Regions from separate parts of the Homo sapiens genome. Here region 1 is linked to region 2. Evidence: promoter capture Hi-C in 16 types of primary human blood cells and fetal thymus (Javierre and others, 2016). All regions are on one chromosome and are shown on one strand. Each heading gives the region's core, a stretch centred on a gene start or on the middle of the fragment in contact. The rest is flanking DNA. Distances are from core to core; before and after follow the strand shown. Region 1 overlaps GPR149 (G protein-coupled receptor 149). Region 2 holds the start of PLCH1-AS1 (PLCH1 antisense RNA 1).

Region 1 (5,348 bases), core at 1,430-3,929, 1.1 Mb after region 2:
TGACCATGTCCTGGGGAACAGTTTCAAGAAATCCTGAGAAAGTGTGCCCAAGGTGGTGAAGTTACTGTTTGGTTTTACAGATTTTAGAGAGACAGAAGCCACAGACAAAGATATAAATCAATACATGTAAGGTATACCTTGATTTGGCCCAGAAAGACAGGACATCTCAATGCCAGGGCTTATAGGTCATAGGTAGATTCAAAGATGTTCTGACTGGCAATTGGTTGAAAGGAGTTAAGCTTTACCTAAAGACTTAAAGTCTGTAGAAAGACATTCTTGAGTTAACATAAGGGGAGTTGTGGAGACCAAAGACAGATGAAGCTTTATAGGTAACAGCCATCACAGAGAATAGATGTAAATGTCTCTTTTTGGACCTTAAAAGGTGTTAGACTCTTAGTTAATCTTTCCTAAATCAGGGAAAGTCCTGGCTGCATTAATGGAGATTGTCTACAGATGCAAATTTCCCCCACCAAAGGCAGCTTTGCAGGGCCATTTTAAATTATGTCACAGAAATGTATTTTGGAGTAAAGTATTTTGATTTCCTTCAGGGTCTGCTATCTGTCATGTAATGCTGTACCAGAGTAGGTTCTAATATGATATCTTATTGCCTCAAGGAGATCAGTCTTATGATCTCTATTTTAATGTCAGTGCTGGTCAGTTGTGCCTAAACTCCAACAGGAAGAGAGTATAACAAGGAGTGTCTGACCTCCCTTTTTGTCATGGCTGAGAATTCAGTTTTTCAGGTTTCTCTAGGGGTCTGTTTGGCCCAAAGAGGGTCCAGTCATTTGGTTGAGGGCCTAGGATTTTATTTTTGGCTTACAGATTGGTACCATAAGTAAGGTATTGTTATAACAAATACCTGAAAATATGGAAACAGCTTTGGAAATAGATAATGGGTAGAGGCTTGACCAGTTTTAAAGTGCGTGCTAGAAAAAGCCTAGATTGCTGTGAATGGAGCATTAAGGGCAATTCTGGTGAGGTCTCAGAAGAGAAAAGCAGTATAAAAGCTTCAGTGTTAGATATTATCTAAGTGGTCATGAACAGACTGTGGGTAGAAATATGGATAGAAAAGAGCATTTTGAAGACATCTTAGATGGAAATAAGGCATATCTTATTGGAAACTGGAGGAAAGGTCATCTTTGTTACAAAGTGGCAAAGAACTGCCTGAATTATGTTCATGTCCTAATCCTTTGTGGAAGGCAAAATTTAAGGGCCATGAACTAAGACATTTGGTGGAAGAAATCTCTAGGCAAAGTGTTCAGGGTGGTGCATGGCTTTTCTTAACCGCTTATAGTAAAGTGTGAGAAGAGAAAAAATGCTCGAGATTGAATTTACGGTCAAAAGTAGAGCAGAAGGTAAAGATTTGAAAAAATTTCAGCTTGGTTATATAAAGAACAAAAGTATGGTTAAGGAGGGAAAACTGAGGATGTGGCCAAGCTACTCATTGATAAGGAAATTAGTATGAATAGAGGGAAGCCAGATGCTATTGATCAAAACAATGGAAGAATAACTCTGAAGGCATTTTGGAGATCTTTGAGACTGCCACTCCCATCACAGGCCAAGAATACCAGAGACTTGAAGGCAGAAGTTTCAAAGGAGGGGCCCAGGGCACCTGTGGAACCTTGGGGTTTGCTGCCCAGGGTCACCTCAAGTCTCTCCTCCCCCATACTCTGGTGAACTGCTCCCAGCTGTGGGGTTAAAAGGTATCAACATTCATCATTGAAGTGGTGCTAAGATTGCAAGCATGCAAAGTACACAAGCTGTGGAGGTATTGCTACCTCCACCTAGATTTCAAAGGATGACTCAGAGAGTCTCAGGTGGCCAGGCAAAGAAATGCCACAGGAGCAGGGTGGCTGCAGAGAGTCTCCAGTAGAGCAATGCCTAGCAGAGTCATGGGGTGGGGCCACTGCAAAAAGTCCCCACCAGGGCAATGCCTAGCAGGTCTGTGAAGGTGGGGCCACCACAGAGTCTCTACTTAGTCAATGTCTCATGAAGCTGTGGGAGTAAGGCTGCCCTGAAACTCCAGAACTCTAGAACTGCCAGAGTGCAATCCCAGCTTGCAGGCACATGACTCCAACTCATGAGAACTGCTGCATGAGCAGCATCCAGCAAAGCCATGGGGGTGGGATCCCCCAGGGCCTTTGGAGCCCAACTTCAGTCTCAGTAAGTCCGTAAGACAGGAGATAGAGCTGAAGAAGATTATTCTCAAGACTTGATATTCAACGTTGTTTTCCCTTTTAGGTTTTGGACTTACTTGAAACGTATTACTTCTTTCTTCTTGCCTATTTCTCCCTTTTGAGATGAAAATGTCTGTGTCATGCCTATCTCACCATTGTATTTTGAAAGTAGATAATTTGTTTGATTTCACAGGCTCATAGCTAGAGAGTAATTTGCCTGAGATGATTTATACCTTGAGTCTCACTCACATCTGATTTAGATGATATTTAGATAAGACTTTGGACTTAGACTTTAAAGTTGATTCTGAAACAAGTTAAGACTTTTGGGGTCTACTGGAATGGAATGATGTATTTCGTATGTGAGAAAAACATGAATTTTGAGGATCCAAGAGTGGAATGCTATGGTTTAAATCATGATGTCTTCTCCAAAACTCATGTTGTAACTTAATGCCCAATGCAGTAGTATTAAGAAGTATGACTTTTGAAAGGTGATTAGACCTGTGGGTTCTGCCCTCATGAATGGGATTGTTGCAGCTTTTTTACTCCCATAGTTCAGCAAGCAGGAGGGAGTGGCACCCAGTGGCTTCACTTCTTCACTCCCATACCTTGGTTAGTAGGAGGGAGTGGTGCCCAGCAGCTTCGCTTCTTCTCTCCCATTGTTCCATGAGAGGGAGAGAGAGTTACAGCTCTTTTATTCCTGCTGCCCACAGCTCAGCACAGCTTCCACTCCTGCATTTCAGTGAGTTCCAGGTTCTTGTCCCACAACCAAGAGGAATAAGGTACATGAACACTGGAGAGTGAGTAAGGCAGAGTAGAATTTTATTGAGCCACAGAAAGAAAGCTGTCAGTGGGAGGGGGACCCAAAAGTGGGTTGTCATCTGGGGTTTTTATGGGCTTAAAATAGGGGAATGCACGCTGATTTGTCCATGGCTGGTCTTGGAAAAAGCACCTTTGGATTGAAAAGGCATCATTCAGAAGGAACCAACCAAGAGAGACTGGGCAAGACAGGGATGGAAGTTCTCACTCCTGTCATGGACTCTATCCAGAAGTGGCAGCTTGGTTTTCAGGTTTTAGACTGCCCTTGGCTTGAAGGTTGGATTTCACTGGGGACTTGTCCCTGTCTGCCTAAGGAATTTGTCTGTTTCCTGTCACTATCAGGATTAACATCCTTATAAATGGGCTCAAGGTTGAAGAGAGCACCCTCTTCCCTGTCATTTTTGCTATGAGAGGACACAGTGTTTGTCCCTCTGGAGGCTGCAGCAATGGGACAGCATCTTAGAAGCAGAGAGCACCCCTCACCAAACACTAATGCTGGAACCTTGATCTTGAACTTCCTAGCCTCCAGAACCAGGAGGCCAATTATTCAAGACTGAATAATTTGTAAATTATTCAGTTTGTAGTATTTTGTTATAGCAGCAAAAGTGTACTGAGACAACCCTCTGATCTACACATCACAGCCCGGAATAAATTTGCAAAAATATAATTTTTCTCCTGTCAATTTTATGCTTAGAACACTTTGGTAGTTCCTTTCGCCTTAAGGACAAGGTTAAAACTCCTTAATGTGGCTTCAGTGATTGGTTCCTGTGGTTTCATCTCCCCTCAACCTCCCCTTGAACTATTTGCTTCAGTTTCTAACCTATTAATTTTATTTCCTTGAATATGCCATGCTCTTTCTTTCTACAAGACCTTTGCACCCTCTACCCAGATTCTTCTTAGAGGAGTCTTCAAAGATTATCTGCTAATGTGCATTTTCAAGTGATCTCATGTGTAATCATTTTCCAATGGAATACCTCTAAATAGCCCTGATATTTCTGCACTGAATCCTTAATATTGATCATTGACACATGGATGGATCCAGGTTATATAGGACTTGAATAGTGTTTGTTTGGGAAAAACAACTGTAAGAAAAAGTATGCAAATCATGAATACAAAATTAGATACAAAAATGAATATTTATTTATAATAAAAAAATATAATAATAAGTGTATTGGTGCCTTGGAGATTCAGACACACATTGTCTGAGATCTCTTTAGGCCATTTCCCAGATACACTTACAAAGAATGCATTCTGATTGCAACCTGGCTTCCACTCTTCACTCAGGGCACTGCCACTTTCAACAATAATCAGCACTCAGAGTGGCCCATGCATGTGATTAGCTGTGGAACTTAAGCTTCATTAGCTTCATGATAAATGTTTCTTCCCCCTGAAGTTTTGATATTTTTAATAGTTTTTAAGTGTTTCAGCTAACAAAAATGCTTATTGGCTTCTTTAGTTGTAATTCTGACTAAAACTTGGGAAACAGGAGAATATGGAAATCTAGCAAGATATTTCTCCATGTCTTTTTTGGGGTGACAGTAAATTAACCAAGAAAGTGTTTGCTCCATGTGACATCACAGCTCTGTCATTTTTTTTTTTTTTTTTTTTTGAGACGGAGTCTTGCTCTGTCGCCCAGGCTGGAGTGCAGTGGCATGATCTCGGCTCACTGCAGGCTCCGCCTCCCGGGTTCACACCATTCTCCTGCCTCAGCCTCTGGAGTAGCTGGGACTACAGATGCCCGCCACCACGCCCGGCTAATTTTTTGTATTTTTAGTAGAGACGGGGTTTCACCATGTTAGCCAGGATGGTCTCGATCTCCTGACCTCATGATCCACCTGTCTTTTTTAGGATATTCTAAGTCAGTAGTTCTCAGATCTGGCTATATATGAAAATAATCTGGAGAACTCTTCACAAATATAAATTTTGGCTTCCAATTCTAAACTACTAAATTAAAATTTCTCAAAGTAGAGACTATAAATGTATCTTTTTAATAAGCTCTGCTTGTATTTGTATGTGGTCAGTTCAGCACCAATCTAAGACTGGCATTTGTAAACAACATGTCTAAAGAATAAAGATTAGAGGTCTGGACCCTGGAAGAACAAATAGGTTCAATCAGTGCATTTAATGTTCCTCGAATACTTTTATAATAAAGGGAATTATTGGTTCTAAGAAGGTGGATACCCAGATTCCTAGACTTCCACATTAGGATGGCCAATTTATTCTGAAACCCTAACAAGTTTTGATAGAGAAAAGAAAAAAAGCACCCCGTACTGGTCCAAAATTTTTGAAAACAAAAGCTTTGGAGCATCACAAATTTTCACCCTGTAAAATTAAAATATACATTAGTGCATATGA
Region 2 (5,934 bases), core at 1,063-3,562:
TACATGGCCCTGTTAAGTTGACACATAAAATGAACCATCACACCTTCTAAACACATCAAATCAGGAGGCACATAATGACATTTTGTCTAATTACTAGTGATGTTAACTTAGATCACTTGGATAAGGCAGTCTTTCAAATTTTCTTCACTTAACATTATTTTCCTCTTTGTATTTGGTAAATTTCTCGTGGCAAGATAATTGAGACCATGTAAATATCCTGTTTTTCATCACACCCTTACCTATTAATGATTCTTGATTGAGGTAATTATTACTGTAATGTTATCAAATGATGATTTTATATTTCTGTTATTTCTTCTATATTTATTAATTTGAATTCTCTTATTTATTTCTTGAATGATTGGTATCAGTATGGACTCATCAATATATATTTTTTATTTTGGGGGTTATAGTCCATTATTCTCATTATTAATTTTGTTACTCAACTTGTCATAGATTTGGGCATTAGGGGATCTTCTTTAAATCATATTTAAACAGCTTTGCTGTATGAATCCTCATGGTTAGGTATGTAAGGTTTGTATAAATAAACAAATTTTCTCTATTATTATAGCAATCCAGGTTTCTTCGCATAGAAATGCCTTAAAAAGTTTTTTTATCTTAAAAATGTTTAATTAAAAGTACTACACTAGATAATGGAAACTTAGTAACCACCCCAGATAAAAACAAAACAAAATAAAACAACAACAACCACAATGACCCGTCCCACCACTACCAAGTTATTTTACCCTTCCAGATCAATAATTGTTCATGGGCATTGTATTGAAATGCTGTAAAGACATTTTCACTGGCTAGAGACACTATTTCAAATGAAATATAAAGAAACATGAAAACATTGACATTTTAAAGTGACTCCTATGGATTTGATTTCGTGAATAATTAAAATATAGCATTTAGTGCTCTTATACATTTTATAACTCATTCATTTATATCAGTCTTTATATCTGAAAGAGGTTTAATGTGTTGTTTAAATTCATTGTTTTCTTTTACTGCAAGCCACAGGAAGAAATTCTAGCTATTTCATCCCAAAAGGAATGTATTGAAGGGATATAAGGTAACTAATAGAATGGAAGAGAAACCAAAAATCTGGCTCAGAAAAGAAGTATCAAAAAGAACTGCAGGAATCCATAAAGAAGGAACTAACAAGCAGACCCTTTGAAAAGCGTCTATCTCCCTAAAGATAGTCTTTGTGGGATTCTGTTCAAGATCCAAATATTAAAGACAGAGCAAGTAATCTAACTTAACTGCCAGTCCCAAAAAGATTGGTTCCCCTTGGAGAGAATGACGTCTTGGTTTGGGTTCCCCCAGAGCAGACTCTGAAACAAGGTTTCAAGAACAAGTGGTTTATTTTGGATATGATCCTAGAAAACCTCAGTAGGGGAGTGGAGAAGAGAGGCAGGGAAGGAAGAGAAGCCAATAAAGGATGTGTTATCAAAGCAGTTCCCACAATGAGCAATTGGAGCTTTATTCCACAGGGAGACAATCTAGAACACACATCAGAGTTATCTCAACCCAGAAGTGAGGAAGCTAGGATATTTTTCAACATTATCTATTATTTACACAATTTGCTGGGGGCTTCTGGGCATTAACTCCTGGGCACTTTTGGCTTGTCCTGTGTGTGAGATGAGTGTTCTATTGCAACCAGACGAAAGTTCTCAAGCAGAGACACAGGAGTTTGCAGTGACAGCAATCTTCTGTGAGTAGAAGCAAGTGCTGAGAAGACATGGGCAGAGCATGGCCATGTCTGCTGCAGTGGTTTCCTTAAGTAAGATTGGGATGCTGTTTCTAGAAAGAGATTGGCATCTTGGCAAGCAAAAGTAGTCGATATTTATTTTGCCATGAAGGCAAATGTCTCATTTTACAGGAAAGTTGTTTTCATGTCAAATGCTGTGTATAGTATGAATTAGGATGTTTTCAGCTACATGGAGGAGCCTACCAATTATAAATGGCTTAAAAGAATACAGATTGTATCAGGCATGATAAACTACTTTATGCTATGGTAACAAACAACCCCCACCAGTGGCTTAACACAACAGAAGTTAATTTCTTACTCACACAAAGTAACAAAGTTGGCTGAGGGTTCAGGCAGCTCGTCACAGCAGCTGTTTTTCAGGCATTGGCTCTTCCTTCCAGGCTGTTTGATCTTATGACACCTCCGTAAATATACATGCTCCCACGATTACTACTGCAGGGGAAGAGCAGGTAGAGAGTCAAACACGAGATAGCACACGACGCTTCTGGCAACATTTCATTTCATCTACCGAGTCATGGAGCCATGCTTTGGTGGAGAAATGCTGTGTCCCTGTGTGTCCAGGAGTAGAGAAGAACAGGATATCGGTAACTACAGGGAATAACTACTGCAAGGTTTGGAGGGAGATAAGTCCAGGGGTGTTTCAGTGGCTTGAGTGCCATCCCTTACTTGCTAAGGACATCTTTTTGTCACATAATGACTCCAGTAGCTCCAAATACCACTTCTTCTCACATCAATATTCATAGGCAGGAAGAGAGGGTTGGGGTCTCTCTGCCTCTTTTTTCTAATCAGGTGCTGTGGAGCTTCTCTTCTCCCACCCTGACTCTTTATCAAGGAAGAGAATCTTTCCTAAGAGCCTCTCAATAGACTTCCAATTATGCTTCACTAGTCAGAACTGGGTCATATGCCTACCTCTAGCTGCAAGGGGGCATCTGACATTTGCAGCCTCACTCATGAAAGTCAGGTTCTGTCAGCTTAGAAAAAGGGGTAGGAGAATGGCTGCTGTGTTCAGAATCAGCAATCAATACCACGTGTCTGCCACACACAGCAACAATATTCTCACTGTCCATGTATAGGATTATAAAACATGTGCCCCAAATCACTATGCTGTTGAAACACAACTCACTGAATCCCCACCATGTGGGAGTCTGAATCACAATCACCGACGGCAGAGTTGTATTTAATCACAACATACCAATTCCTGAGGAAATAGAGTATTTCTTGAAATCCAATATCAAGCAACTTCCTGGGAACATCTATTTGAAGGATCAGATGAGAAATCGTGGCTCTTATGTAACAATTCATAACAATTTAAGAGAAGTTTCTGTTATACAGAGTTTTCCAGAACTCATAATCAAAACGGTAGACTACAAATAAGTAGAAGGCTGGAGATTGACCAAGAAAATTTTCCCTCCTGAAAGATAAACTACAACTTGGCTTATTTTTCAAAGAATCAACTTCTCAGACTCTAGGCAGATAAATGAACACAAAATAACTTACTACTGTGTATTTTAGAATCATACACATTATCTGAGACTTTAATAACAGTTAAACAGATGGTAGATGGTAGCAGAGATGCCTGTTTCAAATGACAGTGGTCTAACAGCTCTCAGTTAAATTGCTTGTGACAGCAAAAGGAAAAAAAGACTTGCAATGCTATCAAAAGCTAAAACTTAAAAATAATTATAATAAACTGGAAAGAAATTTACTAAGTGGTGCTAGACTGAGGAAAAAAAATTCTATTCCATCTTTTACTCCGGAAACAAAGACAGCCTGAAAACAGTAGGAATATACTTTGTATCCCCTCTGTCTGCCTTAGGGAGCCAGAGTCTGCCTCAACCAAAAAAGGACACCTGCTTATTTAGGAAATGCTTTGAGATTCAATTTCACTTCCACTGAATCACTTCCTAGCTTCCACTAAGCCAGAAATTAAAGTGGGAACTCAGAGCCAGCTGAGCCATGATCCAGGAGGAGGTATCTTCCTACTGCCAGACATCCCATCTGAAAGGCCACCAACCAAATCACAAATCTAGGTGACTAAATTGCTTGATGTAACTGCTAAATACTGATGCATCATCCACAGCTTTCCAGAGCAGATACTGATGCACATTAATTTACAAATTTCAGACTATGGAGATGCTAATAATTGTGTCCATTAGGTTAACCCAGGAAAAACAGGCAAGATGGAAGCTGGGGTTGGGGAACCCAGACATAGAGATGTGGGGATAGAAATGGGGGTTGTTCTTTAGGAATCAGGTAAGCTGGACTGTTAGTTTCTCAGATTTGTACCTCATGTTCCAGACACGTCTATGCCTGCTGCATGTTCAAAGGGATCAAACCCTTTTGTATATTGAGACTGAAATATTCAGAGTGGAGGAATAGGCTGGGAGATCACCTAGGATACATTTCTGAAAGTAGACATTAAGTTCAATAATGGCAGTGTAGAAGGATATTAGTCACCTATACCCAAAACTGATAGTGGATATTAACAAGCTACCTTACTTATTACTGAGTATGACACATTCTCTTGGGTATCTCCCCTTTCCCCCCAGTTTCATCTTCTAAAGTTGACTTGATTCAGGTACTCAAGGCCCAGGTGAGCTCACCCTTCTTCAATAGGTTAGGTGACTAAATGCTTCAGAGTTTTCTGCAAAATAAAAAGGAACAATGAGAGAAGAAAAGCTCAGGTTGCCTCTCAGCATTGATTGTTCACATTGGGTTTTATTTAGGGAAATCTCCAGAATTATCTTCATGTTTATATATGAAAATAAAAGAGTATTTAGACCTTTATAAAAAGATAGTACCTTCCTAAGACTGGATTTTGGATAAAAAAACAGTATTTAGGTTGTATCAAGCTTTGAAAACTGAAAACAAAAAAAGTGATTGTAGTTTCTTAAATAGACTCTGGGCCTGAGAGGCAGATGTGATTCTGAAATTTCAAATATATATGAAACCAATACTCTTTCTAAAAGCCTTAAATCTTGTTTGGTTTGATTTGTCTGATACAAAGGACAGCTTCTATAGTAGGTGAAAATTTTCAACTTTCGCTAATCATTTCTTTAAAAGTTACTAATGTGGTACCCTGTTTGAGCCCTGAGCAAAAATGGGTAAATGCATGAATGGTAATTTCTTCGTCTTGCTTGAATACAAAAGCAAGTTGGTAACTGCCCAGGCAATGCAAAACAGAAAAATGTTGGCAAGTGGACAAGTCACTTTCTATGCAACTTTATTCACTCTAGCAACTTTTTCTGCATATATTGTGAATTCATTAGAGATAACAAATTTTAAAAATATTTCCATAATTGCACACAATATAAAAAAATATAATACAAAAACACTAAGAACATTTTTTAAATTATCCATTTGAATCTTGAGCTTTAAGATGCCAGGCCAGGCCTATAATCCAGCACTTTGGGAGGCTGAGGTGGGTGGATCACGAGGTCAAGAGATCGAGACCATCTGGGCCAACATGGTGAAACCCCATCTCTACTAAAAATACAAAAATTAGCGGGGCATTGTGGCATGCACCTGTAGTCCCAGCTACTCGGGAGGCTGAGGCAGGAGAATTGCTTGAACCTGGAGGCAGAGGTTGCAGTGAGCCAAGATCACGCCACTGCACTCCAGCCTGGTGACAGAGCGAGACTCTGTCTCAAAATAAAAAAAATAAAAGAAAAAGAAAAAAAAAAAAGATGCCAGAGAATGCACATCAAATACAGAAATTGGTAATAAATCATGTTTACAGACTGTATAATTGAAGAGATCAGCGAATAAGTGGGGTGTATGTGGAAGTGGGGAGTACATTTGTTGTTTTGTTGTTGTTGGTTGAGCAGCAACATACCATCTAGACAAAGTTTTTTCTAATTACTAGTTGAGTCTTAGTTTTGTAACAAGATGATGCATTAGTGTAGGGGCTCCTGAACAGTTTATGAATTGGCCAAGGTAGGGGTTGAATTGTATGCATATTCCCCCCAATCCCACAAAAAAAATATGTGTTGTCCTAACCCTCAGTACCTCAGAATGTGACCTTATTTGGAGATAGCATCTTTCTTCACAGGAGTAAACAAGTTAAAATGAAGTCATTAACGTGGGCCATAATCTAATATGAATGGTGCCATTGGTATAGTGGTATCATGCAAGATTCCCTAATAGAATAAGATTGTGTCCTTATG

The links. Contacts are between HindIII fragments. The CHiCAGO score rates a contact against its expected background, and 5 or more counts as called.
Region 1: a contact is called between a fragment that was not itself captured here and the fragment with the promoter of PLCH1-AS1 in region 2, in 1 of 17 cell types (M1 macrophages). The highest score is 5.7, in M1 macrophages.

Annotation. Positions count from the first base shown.
Region 1 is chr3:154,361,543-154,366,890 of GRCh38, reverse strand. The region is part of intron 3 of GPR149 (G protein-coupled receptor 149); the gene reads left to right. Among named protein-coding and RNA genes, the nearest start is that of DHX36, 40 kb to the right of the region's middle. RefSeq lists an enhancer at 3,172-3,341. The HindIII fragment of the contact is 3,340 bases long and covers 1,010-4,349 here.
Region 2 is chr3:155,445,562-155,451,495 of GRCh38, reverse strand. It overlaps PLCH1-AS1 (PLCH1 antisense RNA 1), which reads right to left and starts at 2,312. Exons shown (of 2, transcript NR_046746.1): 1 at 2,071-2,312. It also overlaps a transcript of PLCH1 not described here. The HindIII fragment of the contact is 6,189 bases long and covers 1-4,622 here.